3 separate regions of the Homo sapiens genome follow, and all the other regions are linked to region 3. The links are contacts of gene promoters, found by promoter capture Hi-C in blood cells and fetal thymus (Javierre and others, 2016). All regions are on one chromosome and are shown on one strand. Each heading gives the region's core, a stretch centred on a gene start or on the middle of the fragment in contact. The rest is flanking DNA. Distances are from core to core; before and after follow the strand shown.

Region 1 (4,286 bases), core at 1,787-4,286, 610 kb after region 3:
AATTGATTTGGTGGCTTCATGTCCCAGGGGTGTACACACTGTAGTTGAGAAGTATGGTCCTGTACCATGCATAATAGCTGACACTGGGTAGCAACTTACTGTGTACAAAGTGCTTTCACATGAAGCCTGGAAGACACAAAGAAAAGAAAATGTTGAGGGAGCATATAATCATCTCTGAATGGGGATGATAATTCCTATCTCCAGGTTGTAAATACACAGTATGGTATGCCTGATACAAAACAGCTGGCATTTATTATAGTCTCTCAATTGTTACATTTTAAATTAGGTGGCATGAGTTACCTGGAACCAAACAGCTAGTAAAAGACAGTACATATTACTGAATTCAAGTCTTCTGAATCCAGGAGCTCTGCTTTTTCTTATGCCAACAGCCTGCTTATCATACAGAGAGTATGGAATGATTCTCTGTTTAAAAAAATTAAAAAAGAAAGAAAAAAAAAACTAGTGTTATTTGCTTCGAAAACACCAACCCTCAGATATATAGTAGTGTTATAATTGAAGCATTAGCAATTATTTTCTTTGTCAAATCATTTATTTCTTTTCAACCAGAATATTGGCAAAGCTTGCTCCTTCACTCTGTTCAGATTTCTGCTTGTTTTTTTCTAAGCTCATCCTTCAATGAACACATGCTGCAAAATAGCACGATACCGTTACTATTACCTCATACCATTTGTATTTCTTCATAGAATTTATCTGCTTGTAATATATAAGCATTATATTATATATGACATTATAGTATAAATGCTGTTGCTATTTGTTTATTCTTTAATGGCCAGCCTGCTGAAATAGAAGTGCCTTGTGGTCAAGCATTTGTGTGCTGTTTATTGCTGTACTCCTACCACCTAGAGTAGTAGGTCCTCAATAAACATTTGTTAAATAAACATATGTTGAATCAACTGTCTAGGCATCCCATCTAAGACTTCAGCCCTGGGAATCTCTACTTCCTAGGCTCTATTCATCCATATGGCTTGATTACTCAAGAGCCAGAGTTACCTGAGAATGCACAGAGCAAATGTCCTCACTGCACATTCTTGAAGAGGGATGTTCAAGCCAGAAATAGCATAGATAAAAAACAAAATTATAATCAAACCATATCTATCTACTTGTAGAATGATTTCAAAAGACAGCAAGGTTAAGAAGGCTTTTCAAAATCCAAGGCATTATGCCAAATATATAACATATATTTAATAAAAGTGGAAAATTTGGAAACTTCCATCTCTGGTGGGAGTAATCCAACTTCCTATGGTTCCACTGTGCAAGATACCCTAGATTCTAAGAAGGAAGTAAAACATGGTGTATTGCAGGGAAACTTCAAGTAATTGAATTTGTGTGAACTTTCAGACTAAGCTGATAGAAAATCGCATGGTTTATTTTAATGTTTCTGCTATTAGTTATTTTTTCACGATAATTTAACTGGTGAATCCAGTTATCTATTTAGACAATAGATGTATTTTTATTCTGGCTATGTCATAATATTCTGCAATTACAAAATCACATAACACTTAAATTACTGCCGTAAAGCTAAGAAGAAATAACTTGCCATATTCCAAATTCCTAAAGGAGCTCGATCTCTGTTACCTAAGCAATCCCTCCTCTGTTTTGCTCTTTTGTGATTCTTAGGCTGGAATCACGTTTTGGCTCTATCAGCCTAAGGAGCAGTTAGCCACCTGTCACTGAGTTAGGGAACAAAAAGACCAAGGCGATAGGTATTTGCACCATAAACTTCTCCTATCTTGTATGTCCATAATTCTGTATTATTATTATTATTATTATTATGTTTTGAGACGGGGTCTCGCTTTGTCGCCCAGGCTGGAGTGCAGTGGCATGAGCTCGGCTCGCTGCAAGCTCCGCCTCCTGGGTTCACACCATTCTCCTGCCTCAGCCTCCCGAGTAGCTGGGACTATAGGCGCCCGCCACCATGCCCAGCTAATTTTTTGTATTTTTAGTAGAGACGGGGTTTCACTGTGTTAGCCAGGATGGTCTCGATCTCCTGACCTTGTGATCCGCCCGCCTCAGCCTCCCAAAGTGCTGGGATTACAGGCGTGAGCCACCGCGCCCAGCCAATTCTGTATTATTTTGCATTTCTGACACTCATGACTTGATACCTTAAACATTCAAACACATAGAAGCACTTATTTGTGTGAACAGCAGTTTCTTTCCTTGAACCAAAGATTGTCAACCCTTAATCTAAAACATAAAAGGAAATAAAATTCAAACACCACTTCTCCATTACTTGTAAATTTTATTTCTCTCTTCTTAATATATTAATACCCAAATTCCAGCCAAAATATTAAGGATGGATGTGGTGGCTTATGCCTGTAATCCCAGCACTTTGGGAGGCTGAGGTAGGTAGATTGTTTGAGCTCTGGAGTTTGAGATCAGCCTGGGCAACATGGCAAGACCTTATCTCCAAAAGAAAAAAAAAAGGTTAAGAAATCTAAATTTCAGTTAATTTTGCCCTTATTGCTAAGTAAATCTGAGTAAATTATAGATGTTAGTAATTTGGGGTAAGAATTCCCAAAACCAGCCGGGCATCGTGACTCACGCCTCTAATCCCAGCACTTTGGGAGGCCGAGGTGGGTGGGTCACTTGAGATCAGGAGTTTGAGACCAGCCTGGCCAGCATGGTGAAACCTTGTCTTTACTGAAAATACAGAAATTAGCCAGGCTTGATGGTGCATGCGTGTAATTCTGGCTACTTAGGAGGCTGAAGCAGGAGAATCACTTGAACCTGGGAGGCAGAGGTTGCAATGAGCCGAGATCGTGCCATCACAACAGAGCAAGACTCCGTCTCAAAAGAAAAAAAATTCCCAAAACCAGATGTTTAGGGTGGAGAGTTCATTACTGACAACAGTAGAGAATCTCATCTTCAATTTTAGAGATAAATTATATCAAGGGAAATTTTGACAGCCAAAGTGAAGTCCTGAAATTAAACAGAGTAAAGAAATTATCAATCTAGTAAAGATCCTCAAAGAATGCTTTCTGGAGAACAGTTTTAGATAAAATAAGCAAATAAAGAATGAAGATAGCAGAGATAAAGCCGGAGAAGTAGAAACTATCAATGTTTTTACCCCCTTCAAAAATAATGTTGAAACTTAGTACCCAATGCAACAGTGTTGGGAGCTTGGGCCAAATGGGAGGTATTTAGATCATGAGAATTTCACTCACGTAAATAGACTGATTAATGCCACTCTAACGGGCATGTAGGGGGTGAATTCGCCCCGTTTGTCATGTGAGGACACAGCAAGAAGGCCTCACCAGATACTGATGCTTGACCTTGGACTTCCACCTCAAGTACTGTGAGAAATACATTTCTGTTCTGTATAAATTACCCAGTCTATAGTATTCCATTACAGCAGCACTAAATGGACTAAGACAGTGGGAAAGTATGCATGTCCATTACAGGGAGGGTCAGAGAACAGGAGTTTTCATGAACCAGAAACTTCTTTCACTCATATTTTCTCCATGAGACATGCAATAAACAGATGAATGATGCCAACTCTGGCCTTGTACAGTATATCATGACTGGTTCACATCACTCCCCAGGTTTCCATATGCATTCACTCTCCTCTCCTGCCTCAACACTGAGTCTCTTTTATTCCACTCCAAAGTAAAGAGGTCATCCCTAGAACTACAGAAGCTCTTTCTGCCAACAGAGTTGTCTGGAGTTTATGGCATTAGCTTTGAGCAACAGGAAAAGTAGAATACAAAACTGCAATACAGAAACTACAAAATTTCAAGGAAGGACTGGCTGAGAGAAGCCTTGAGGTTGGAGGGGAAGGAATGGCATTGTTGTGAAAACGTGTTCTGGGAACTGAGCTTAAATTGAATTGTAGGAGGCTGCAGTCCCACTGGAAAATGCATACTGGCACCAAGATGACTGCTGCTTCCAGGAACATCCTCCCACTCCTTAGCAATGTGGAACAGATTGAAGGAAGCTCAAACAATCCATTTAAGCAGGAAGTAAATAGATTAAGAGAGCAACCAGATGGCCTAAGGCACTATCGGTATAGCTATCCCCACCCCTCAGCGCCCCCATCAGCTTTTCCTTCCTTGTTTCTTCTCACTGTCTGAAAGACTACTCAGGCGTGCACTGCGAGGTGGAGATCTGACTTCTCTTGTTCCCGCTTAAGACTGCCTCCTGTGTAAGTTTCTGCTATCTAGATCTTTGACTACCAACCAGCCAGGAGTGGTCTGCCTCTTCTTTGGTCTGAGCTTGCCTTGTGCTTATATTGTTGTACCCAAGCGAGTTAAGAAAATACCCCACAC
Region 2 (4,136 bases), core at 393-2,892, 620 kb after region 3:
CTGAACTTTATCAAAAAAATTGAACTCTGAATTTTATGTAAACTTTTAAGTGATTGTAGGGTTGGGATTTAAAATTACATGTTCTCCATTTGTGAATTAGAAAACGTCGTGTGTGTGTGTGTGTGTGTGTGTGATACTTTCTAGTTTGTAACATTACAATACACATATGTGTGTATTTAGTCCATAAAAATACCTAATTTGAAACTTAAAATTATTTGCAGTGATCAAAATTATGTCCCACTGACAAAGTTTTATACAGAGGAAGCTCTCCAATTTGTTAATTTGAATTCAAATATTCACGTGTTAAGTTTCCTTACAGTACATGATTTTACGCTGTTGCCATTTTGAATGTTGTAAATTATTTTTTATTTCAGTAGGTTTTTGGGAAACAGGTGGTGCTTCGTTATAGGAATAAGTTCTTTAGTGGTGATTTCTGACTTTTTGATGCACCCATCGTCCAAGCAGCGTACACTGTACCCAGTGTGTATGTAGCATTTTATCCCTCACCCCCCTCCCACTCTTTCCCCTGAGTCCCCAAAGTCCATTGTATCATTCTTATGCCTTTGTGTCCTCATAGCTTACCTCCCACTTATGAGTGAGAACATACAATGTTTGGTTTTCCTCTCCTGAGTTACTTCACTTAGAATAATGGTCTCCAATTCCATCCGGGTTGCTGTGAATGCCGTTATTTTGTTCCTTTTTATGGATGAGTAATAGTATTCCACGGTGTATACATACCCCATTTCTTTATCCATTTGTTTACTGATGGGCATCTGGGCTGGTTCCATATTTTTGCAGTTGTGAATTGTGCTGCTGTAAACATGCATGTGCAATGATCTTTTTTTGTATACTGACTTCTTTTCCTCTGGGTAGATACCCAGTAGTGGGATTGCTGGATCAAATGGTAGATCTGCTTTTTAGTTCTTTAAGGAATCTATACACTGTTTACTATAGTAGTTCTACTAGTTTACATTCCCACCAGCGGTGTAGAAGTGTTCCTTTTCACCACATCGATGCCAGCGTCTGTTTTTTAAAATTTTTTGATTATGGCCATTCTTGCACGAGTAATGTGGCATCATTTTGTGGTTTTGATTTGCATTTCCCTGATCATTAGTGATGTTGAGCGTTTTTCCTTATGCTTGTTGGCCATTTACATATCTTCTTTTGAGAATTGTCTATTCATGTCCTTAGCCCTTAGCCCTTTTTTTTTTTTTTTTTTTTTTTTTTTTTTTTTTTTTTTTTTGAGACAGAGTCTTGCTCTTTTGCCCAGGCGGGAGTGCAGTGGCGCTATCTCGGCTTACTGCAAGCTCCGCCTCCCGGGTTCACGCCATTCTCCTGCCTCAGCCTCCAGAGTAGCTGGGACTACAGGCGCCCGCCACCGCCCCCGGCTAAATTTTTTGTATTTTTAGTAGAGACGGGGTTTCACCGTGTTAGCCAGGTTGGTCTCGATTTCCTGACCTCGTGATCCGCCCGCCTCGGCCTCCCAAAGTGCTGGGATTACAGGCGTGAGCCACCGTGCCCGGCCCTTAGCCCACTTTTTGATGGGATTATTTGTATGTGCAATGCTTGTTCCCTGGTGCCATAAATAAATAGCATTTGAATATCAATTTAATTTTTTCAGCAAGGCCATTTTTATACTTTTTGTAGAAAGGGTACACTCGCCAGCAGTTTTGCCACAAGAGTATACGGAACAAAGGAGACAGGCTCATTTATAATCTGACGCGGCCACCCTCCTGCTGCGTTCGGTTTCCATTGGCTGGGACGGGACCTCACCTTCTGTATTTGTCCCGACTGGCTAGCACTTAGAACTTTTTAAAAGAGGCAAAGGCATAGGAGAACAAAGGAAGGAGGAAGTAACTTGTGGAATATTGAGAAAGGTAAAAACACCTTTAAATAAGGAAGAGGAACAGGCTATGACCTAATGCTTGCTTGGATCAGTATAAGCATGTTAGGGCAAATATTTAGGCTAAATTGTGGGAGCTAAGAACATAAAGTATATTGATTTTTTATTATGGCTAGCAGATATTTAAGAATGTTTGTACAGGTCTTTGAATAAATTTTGCTTTTAAGAGAAGTTACTATTTATTTCTAATTAGATGGGGAGGAAAGTTTTTGAAGAGGAACCTCTACTTTTTACAATTTCCCCTCATTTCATAATTCTTCTTTAAACTTGTTTAATATGTTTTGACTTAATTTTTTTTTGTCCTTTTAAGAGAAGTAATTTTTCAGAATAGGGTGGAGGAGAATTAGGAGTTAACTCTGCAAGAGTGGCAGAGATAAGTTTTTGTATAAAATTTCAAAGGCAGGGAATAATATAACAGCCTACAAGAATAAGTACACCAATAACAAGAGCAAACGAGGTGAGAATTGAAGTTAAATTTTTTTTTTATCCGCTGAACCAATGTTTTATTATTTTAGAAAAAGAGTTATTTATTTTAGAATTGTTGGCAAGTTTATCGGATAGGGCTGTTAATCCTTGTAGCACTTTTGTTATAGTTCTATCAGGGGCAGTATTAGGAATAAAGGTATAACATTGAGTTTTAATTATGACACAAACTTCTTTTTTTGCTAATATTATATTTAAAGCTATTTTATTTTTCTAGACCATCTGGCTGGTAGGTCCTAATTGCTTAGCTTTCTCTTTGATGGCGTCCTCAGTGTAATTTATGAATCGTTGCTGATTATAGTAGATATAGTTTATTTAGTCTACTTAAAAAAAATTTATAGTTACTTAACAGAGCAACATGGATTTAAACTCTGCAGCTATTTGATTTTGTGCTTTAAACTTATTTGGCACTTCTCATAGGACCTTAATAGCATTTATGTAAACCTAACGTTTAAAGGACTCATGAGGAGTTTCCTTTGGCCTGCAGTGTCTTGTTTTTACCTTTTTTTTTTTAGGTTGGTGAAATGCCAGGGTGCAGGGGATAGCCAGTTGGATTAGAGCATAAGTACTGCTCCAATTATTTGGCAGAGTGTCTAGTAAAAGTCCTCTACAATATCACCATACATTTGCTTGGGGATGGCTAAGCGTGGACTGATGGGCAAGCTCTTGGAAAGGCTTGAGCTCCTTGCATCCTTTTATGCTTCTAAGGAACACCAAATTTTACTCTTGCCGTGAGAGGCACAAAGTAAACTTGGCATTCAGAGGTGGAAGCAGGCTTGCCCTCGGGGGCGGACCCCCGGGGTATTGAGTTTCAGGAAATAACAGATAGAGAGCTCAGCATGATGGATTATCCTAAACTGTGGGATTTTGCAAGAGAGCCACCATATGTCCATTTCTGGTCAATGAGGAGACCGTCCGAGTGGAAAGGGGATAATCTGGCCCTCTGGGCTACCATGCGTACAAGCGTGATAATAATTTTTATTTAAAGTGCGAAGGGAATATTTAATTCATTCCAGCCAGGCATTTGCATCTTGATATTTTGTCTTAATGGCTAAGGTCTGTCTTAGATGTCTTATTTTTACAATAGACAACCTAGTTTTATTATTAGATGTAGGGGCAACTGGTGTGGGATCTAGAACCGAGGCTACTGAAGAAGGGGAAGATGGGGGAATAATGCGTGTTTTAAAAACACCTAGGGGGTCTTTTTCATTTATGTCAATCCCCATGCCATCTAAGCGACCAAGGGCAGGTCTAGAGTTAGTTAAGGTGGAGGTGGTGATAAAGAGAAGGACAGAGTTACATTGATAAGGGCTGACAGTTAGAAGGGGTAGCCCTTTTGGTGAAATAGATGAAGGGTTTTAGATCTGCACAAACCTTTTTTGTGGAAGTCTAACTTTGCTCTTGAGTAGTTTAAAGGATGTAGTCCCATTTACTACAAGGTTGCCAGGCTGTAGGAGCAGAAAATCGATGCCTTGGCTGCAGGTGCTCACAATGATGAGTGCTACGGGTAATTGTGTCAATTAGAGGGCCGGGACATAAATATTTGTGTGAAAAGGCTAGCTGTCGTTAATCTTTTTTTATTTCCACAAAGTATGAGAAAACAAGCATTAAAGACAATGGTCTAAGGTGAGTTAGACTTAGTTATATTTATAACAAAGGAGCTAATAACAAAAGAAAAAAATATATAAAAGATGTATTAAAATGAAGCTTTCTTTAACTTAGAAGGGCTTAATCTTAGTACAGTAACCCA
Region 3 (4,469 bases), core at 1,063-3,562:
GCCACTGCACTCCAGCCTGGGTGACGGGAGTGAAACCCTGTCTCAAAAGAAATTTACATGTAATTTTTACAGTCATACAAATAATGATATTTCAGCTTTTCATTTGTGAGATGTAACATAATTTTAACAAATCAGCACATTTTAATTCTAGTATGGATTAGTCTCTGGGCAGAACAAGGATCTCATTAACAGTAATTGACTTCCTCAACTAGAATCCAAGCACTGTGAGAATGAGATAGTTCACATATTTACTCAAAAAGAAATCTTAGTTGTCCAGATGAAAAAATTCAAGGCTTATCGGTTTTAATATTTTAAATAACATTTCTTAAACTATGTAGCTTGAAAATGATAGTTTAGATTTAAAATCAATCCTGATCAGTGTTTATAATTCAAATTATATTATTGTAATCAATAAAATGTTAGGTTCTTATAAATATTACACTATGATCATCATAGAGATTATGGCCATTTTTGCCTCTTCAGAGCACTGTGTTCTATTTGATCATCAAGCATGAGGATGTCATTATTGTTTATTTTTAGTCTATTATTAAATAAAATTACATGATCTGAAAGACTTAAACATATAGCTAAGTGAAAACAAAACAAGAACTATAAATAAAAATAATGTTTAACTTATGATTAACATAATAAAAATCTAGAATTATCAACAATTCTGATAATATCGACTAACATTTTTGTCACTGTAAAACCCAGTTTCTTAGTATTAATATCTTGTTCTCCATTTAAGGCCCAGTTTAAATTTTCTCTCCCTTCTTTTCATCCCACTTATTCTAAATCTTTTTCTCTTTCAGATGGAATAAATACTCATTCCTTTGATTCTCATAACTTTTATTTATATTCTTTTAACTGATCTGATTATCTTGCATTATCATATTTTTTTCAGTGTTCATCTTTTCACCTAACCAGTCCCAACCACCATAAACTATACATTTGTTCATTTTAATTTTTCCTCTTTGAATGGGACTTGGTACACAGATGAATGTATTACTAGATGAATGCCTGTGTCCCGGATAAAAATGCTTCCAGCCACTTCAGACTCTGTTCTGTCTCTCCAACTGGAAAAGCAATTCTTGTCCTTATATTTGTTTTGGTTGTGTCTTTCCTTGAAAAACTCTCATGCTTTTCTCTTTTTGCCAAGTGTGAATTCTTTTTTTTTAACTAGACATCGGACAATATAGAGTGTAGATTGACTTGCATTTTTTTTCTTTTTGGAATAGGAGAAAATAAAAAGGCAAGAGTAGTCTTAATCCTTGGAAACACTGTCTGAGACATGCATTAAAGGTCAGAAAATTTTATGCCTTTGATTTCTTCTGTGACTATCCTAGTTAATTTTATTATTATTTTTTGTTAGCTCATCTTGGTTGCCACAGGCATTCCAAGAACTCTTTTCAATGCAGTTTTTACCTCTTTGTTCCTCAGACTGTAGACAAGAGGATTAAGTAAGGGAGTAACCACTGTGTAGGTCACTGCCACCAACTGATCCTTGTCTGAGGCAGACTTGGACTTGGGCCGCAGATAGATGATAGAGGCACAGCCATAGTGGACAAAGACCACAGTGAGATGTGAGGCACAGGTGACAAAGGCCTTCTTGCCCTCAGCTGAGGGGATCTTCAGGATGGTGTTAACTATGAAGCCATAGGATATGAGAATTAACAGAAAAGGCACCATAATTACCAGGATGCTGAGGCTAAATAAAGCCAGCTCTTTCACATGGGTGTCAGTGCAGGCTAACTTGATAACAGGTGCCATGTCACAGAAATAGTGGTTAACCCTGTTGGGGCCACAAAAACGCATGTCACAAATGAGGTTGGTGGCCACCAAAGCAATAAAGAAACCTGTGGCTCCTGAGAGAGAAATCAACTCCAACCCCAGCCTTTTGTTTATGATGAGTGTGTACCTCAGAGGGTGACAAATTGCTACATAGCGATCATATCCCATCACAGCAATGAGGAGGCAGTTGGTGCAAGCAAAGCCAAGGAAAAAGAACAGCTGGGTGGCACAGGCCATGAAGGAGATGGTCTTGGTGTCTGAGAGCAGGTGGACCAGCAGCTGAGGGATGATGACAAAAGTGTAGCAGGACTCAGAAAATGAAAGGATGAATAGAAAGCCATACATGGGAGTGTGGAGAGTCCAGCTGAAGCGAATAACGGCCATGATGGTCACATTGGCCACCAGGATTGTCAAGTATAGGAGAAGAAAGATGACAAAAAGCAGCAGCTGGAGCTCCCCCAGGCTGGAGAAACCCACCAGGATGAACTGTGTAACCACAGTGGTTTTGTTGAAACCTCGCATCTGAAGAACTTCTTTCTGTGAATGTGTTTGAAAGAGACAAAATGATAACTATCTTTGTAATACGAACATTTTCCCAACGCCTTCACTTTAAGTATATTGTCAGATTCATAATGTTAACATCTCTTTCTCTTAGTCTATCTAGATATAGATGCCTCTTTAATGATTTTTCCAAAAAATTATTAATCTGAAGTAACAGAGAAATGATTATCTACAGTATATAAATACCCCAAAGTTAAAAGGATCCAACTATTTGACAAAGTGAAAAAATTCTCTCAGTTTAAGAAGAACATTACCTTTAATATGGAATAGAAAATTTAAATTATTTTTCTTGTACTGTATGTATTTGGTCCTTGGATGTATATTCTATCCTAGTAATTTGGTTTCTTTTCCTAATATCACAATCCATTTAATTAGCATTATTGTAAAGGCATTAAAACACTGTGCCTCAGAGCATGAACTCAGGAACAAGAATGCTAGAGTTTGAAACTTGCCTTTGCCACTTAGAGCTATGAACTTCAGTGTGACAATTTTTGTCATTTGTAAGACATAAATAATAATAGAACATATTATATAGGATTGTTGTAAGAACTTAGATGGTATCAGTAAAGTACTTGAAACAGCACTTAACACATAGTAACTCCAATCTATGTGTCAGCTGCTTATGCAGTTAAGGAGTTGAGAGGCAAATATCCTGGTTTGATATTTGAACACTAGAAGAGCCTGGATCCTTAAATCAGGACAGAGTTTCCCTGCATTTGACTCAAGTGTTCTTATCCTTGAGATTCTTTTTTTAAAATTGAGCAAAAATTTAAATATGCACAGTTAAAGAAAGAACTGTTACTTTTACATTAAAAATTATTTTCTTTTTAATTTATTTTTTATTAGCAACTAATAATTATACCTATTTATGGGGTATTATGTGATGTTTGGATACATGTATACATTGTGGGATGATTAAATCAGGGTTCTTTAATAAATCTGCCCTTTTTTATCTAAGGAGTCTATAGCCTTTGAATTCTCTTTCATGATTCTATGACATTTGTTCTGTATGTTTCTGGAACTGTGAAGGGACCCAAGTGTAAAACCTGGGTCACAAGGTTATGATGTATCTGTCTATGAAACAAAATAGATTGATGATCACTAGGGATAGGGGTGGAGCAGGAAGACTTAGGTTAAGTCTTCTCTCTATTGAAGAAAGGAGAGGAAATAACGTGAACACACCTTGAATCTCTTGCAAATAAAATAGCCAGAAAGTGCTAAATGGAAAGAGAAGAGCCTATCTCAGGAACTTCCCATTATTTTATAGTCTAGGTTATTCCTCCTCCCAGAGCCCTAATCATTTTTACTTTCAGAATCAGCTTCAGAGATTCAGGAGAAACCAGATGTAATATTTGCACAACTCAACATCTCCCAACTTGTTGGCTACTTTAATGGCTATAAGATGTTAGGAGTTGTTTGACATGACACACTTGAGTTTGTTCATTGTTCATCATCTCTGTTGTGGTTTATTTGCTTAGGTAGTTCCACACACCTGCTACAACAGCTTTTTCCTTTGTTTCAGACCTTGCGGAAAATAAGATGCTTTCATGTAAGCTACTTCATTTTGACTCTAACATCCTGGTAGATAGCAAAAGTGTCTGTCGCTATCTCACGGGTAAGGCAAGTGTACTAAGTGCCCTCTCCTGGGCAGAGTAACCCATGAACATCCTCATCCTTGCATTTAACATGTTGCATTGAACATACCTCTTTATATATTTGGCACTCTTTATAGATTATAAGCTTCTCACATGCAGGAATAACTTTTTTTAATTAAAAAATGAGTCCCTAGAATATAGCATAGTTTGTGATTTATCATGTGCTCAAATATTTTGACTTGATTAGAATGTCAAAAATTAAATAATATGCTCAAGTGGTAGATCCAGTATCAGAATTCAAGTCTTCTAACTTCAAATCCACTTTCTACTTACCAAATTTTATGGCACCCATTCTTTACCTTGTGAGAAGATGATCTGCTCATATACTTTTTCCAAGGGATGAAAGCATAGTTCCACACTGCTTGTTCAAGTAAAACTTATTTGAACATTTCTGACTTTTCTGGAATAATCCAATTTTAATTATCCAAGTTTTTGAATTATCAAATTTTACAATATGAGCTT

Evidence for each region. The method cuts DNA at HindIII sites, captures the fragments that hold promoters and counts their contacts. A CHiCAGO score of 5 or more calls a contact.
Region 1: a contact is called between a fragment that was not itself captured here and the fragment with the promoter of OR10T2 in region 3, in 3 of 17 cell types (fetal thymus, total B cells and naive B cells). The highest score is 16.4, in fetal thymus.
Region 2: a contact is called between a fragment that was not itself captured here and the fragment with the promoter of OR10T2 in region 3, in 1 of 17 cell types (fetal thymus). The highest score is 8.5, in fetal thymus.

What each region holds. Positions count from the first base shown.
Region 1 is chr1:159,001,880-159,006,165 of GRCh38, forward strand. PYDC5 (pyrin domain containing 5) reads right to left here and starts at 872. Exons shown (of 1, transcript NM_001320010.2): 1 at 1-872. It also overlaps a transcript of IFI16 not described here. RefSeq lists enhancers at 3,508-4,033, 4,034-4,286. The HindIII fragment of the contact is 4,916 bases long and covers 579-4,286 here.
Region 2 is chr1:159,020,739-159,024,874 of GRCh38, forward strand. All of the region lies in intron 6 of IFI16 (interferon gamma inducible protein 16), which reads left to right. Among named protein-coding and RNA genes, the nearest start is that of IFI16, 13 kb to the left of the region's middle. The HindIII fragment of the contact is 4,898 bases long and covers 1-4,091 here.
Region 3 is chr1:158,397,154-158,401,622 of GRCh38, forward strand. It overlaps OR10T2 (olfactory receptor family 10 subfamily T member 2), which reads right to left and starts at 2,313. Exons shown (of 1, transcript NM_001004475.1): 1 at 1,369-2,313. The coding sequence starts at 2,313. The coding sequence ends at 1,369. The HindIII fragment of the contact is 4,820 bases long and covers 1-4,090 here.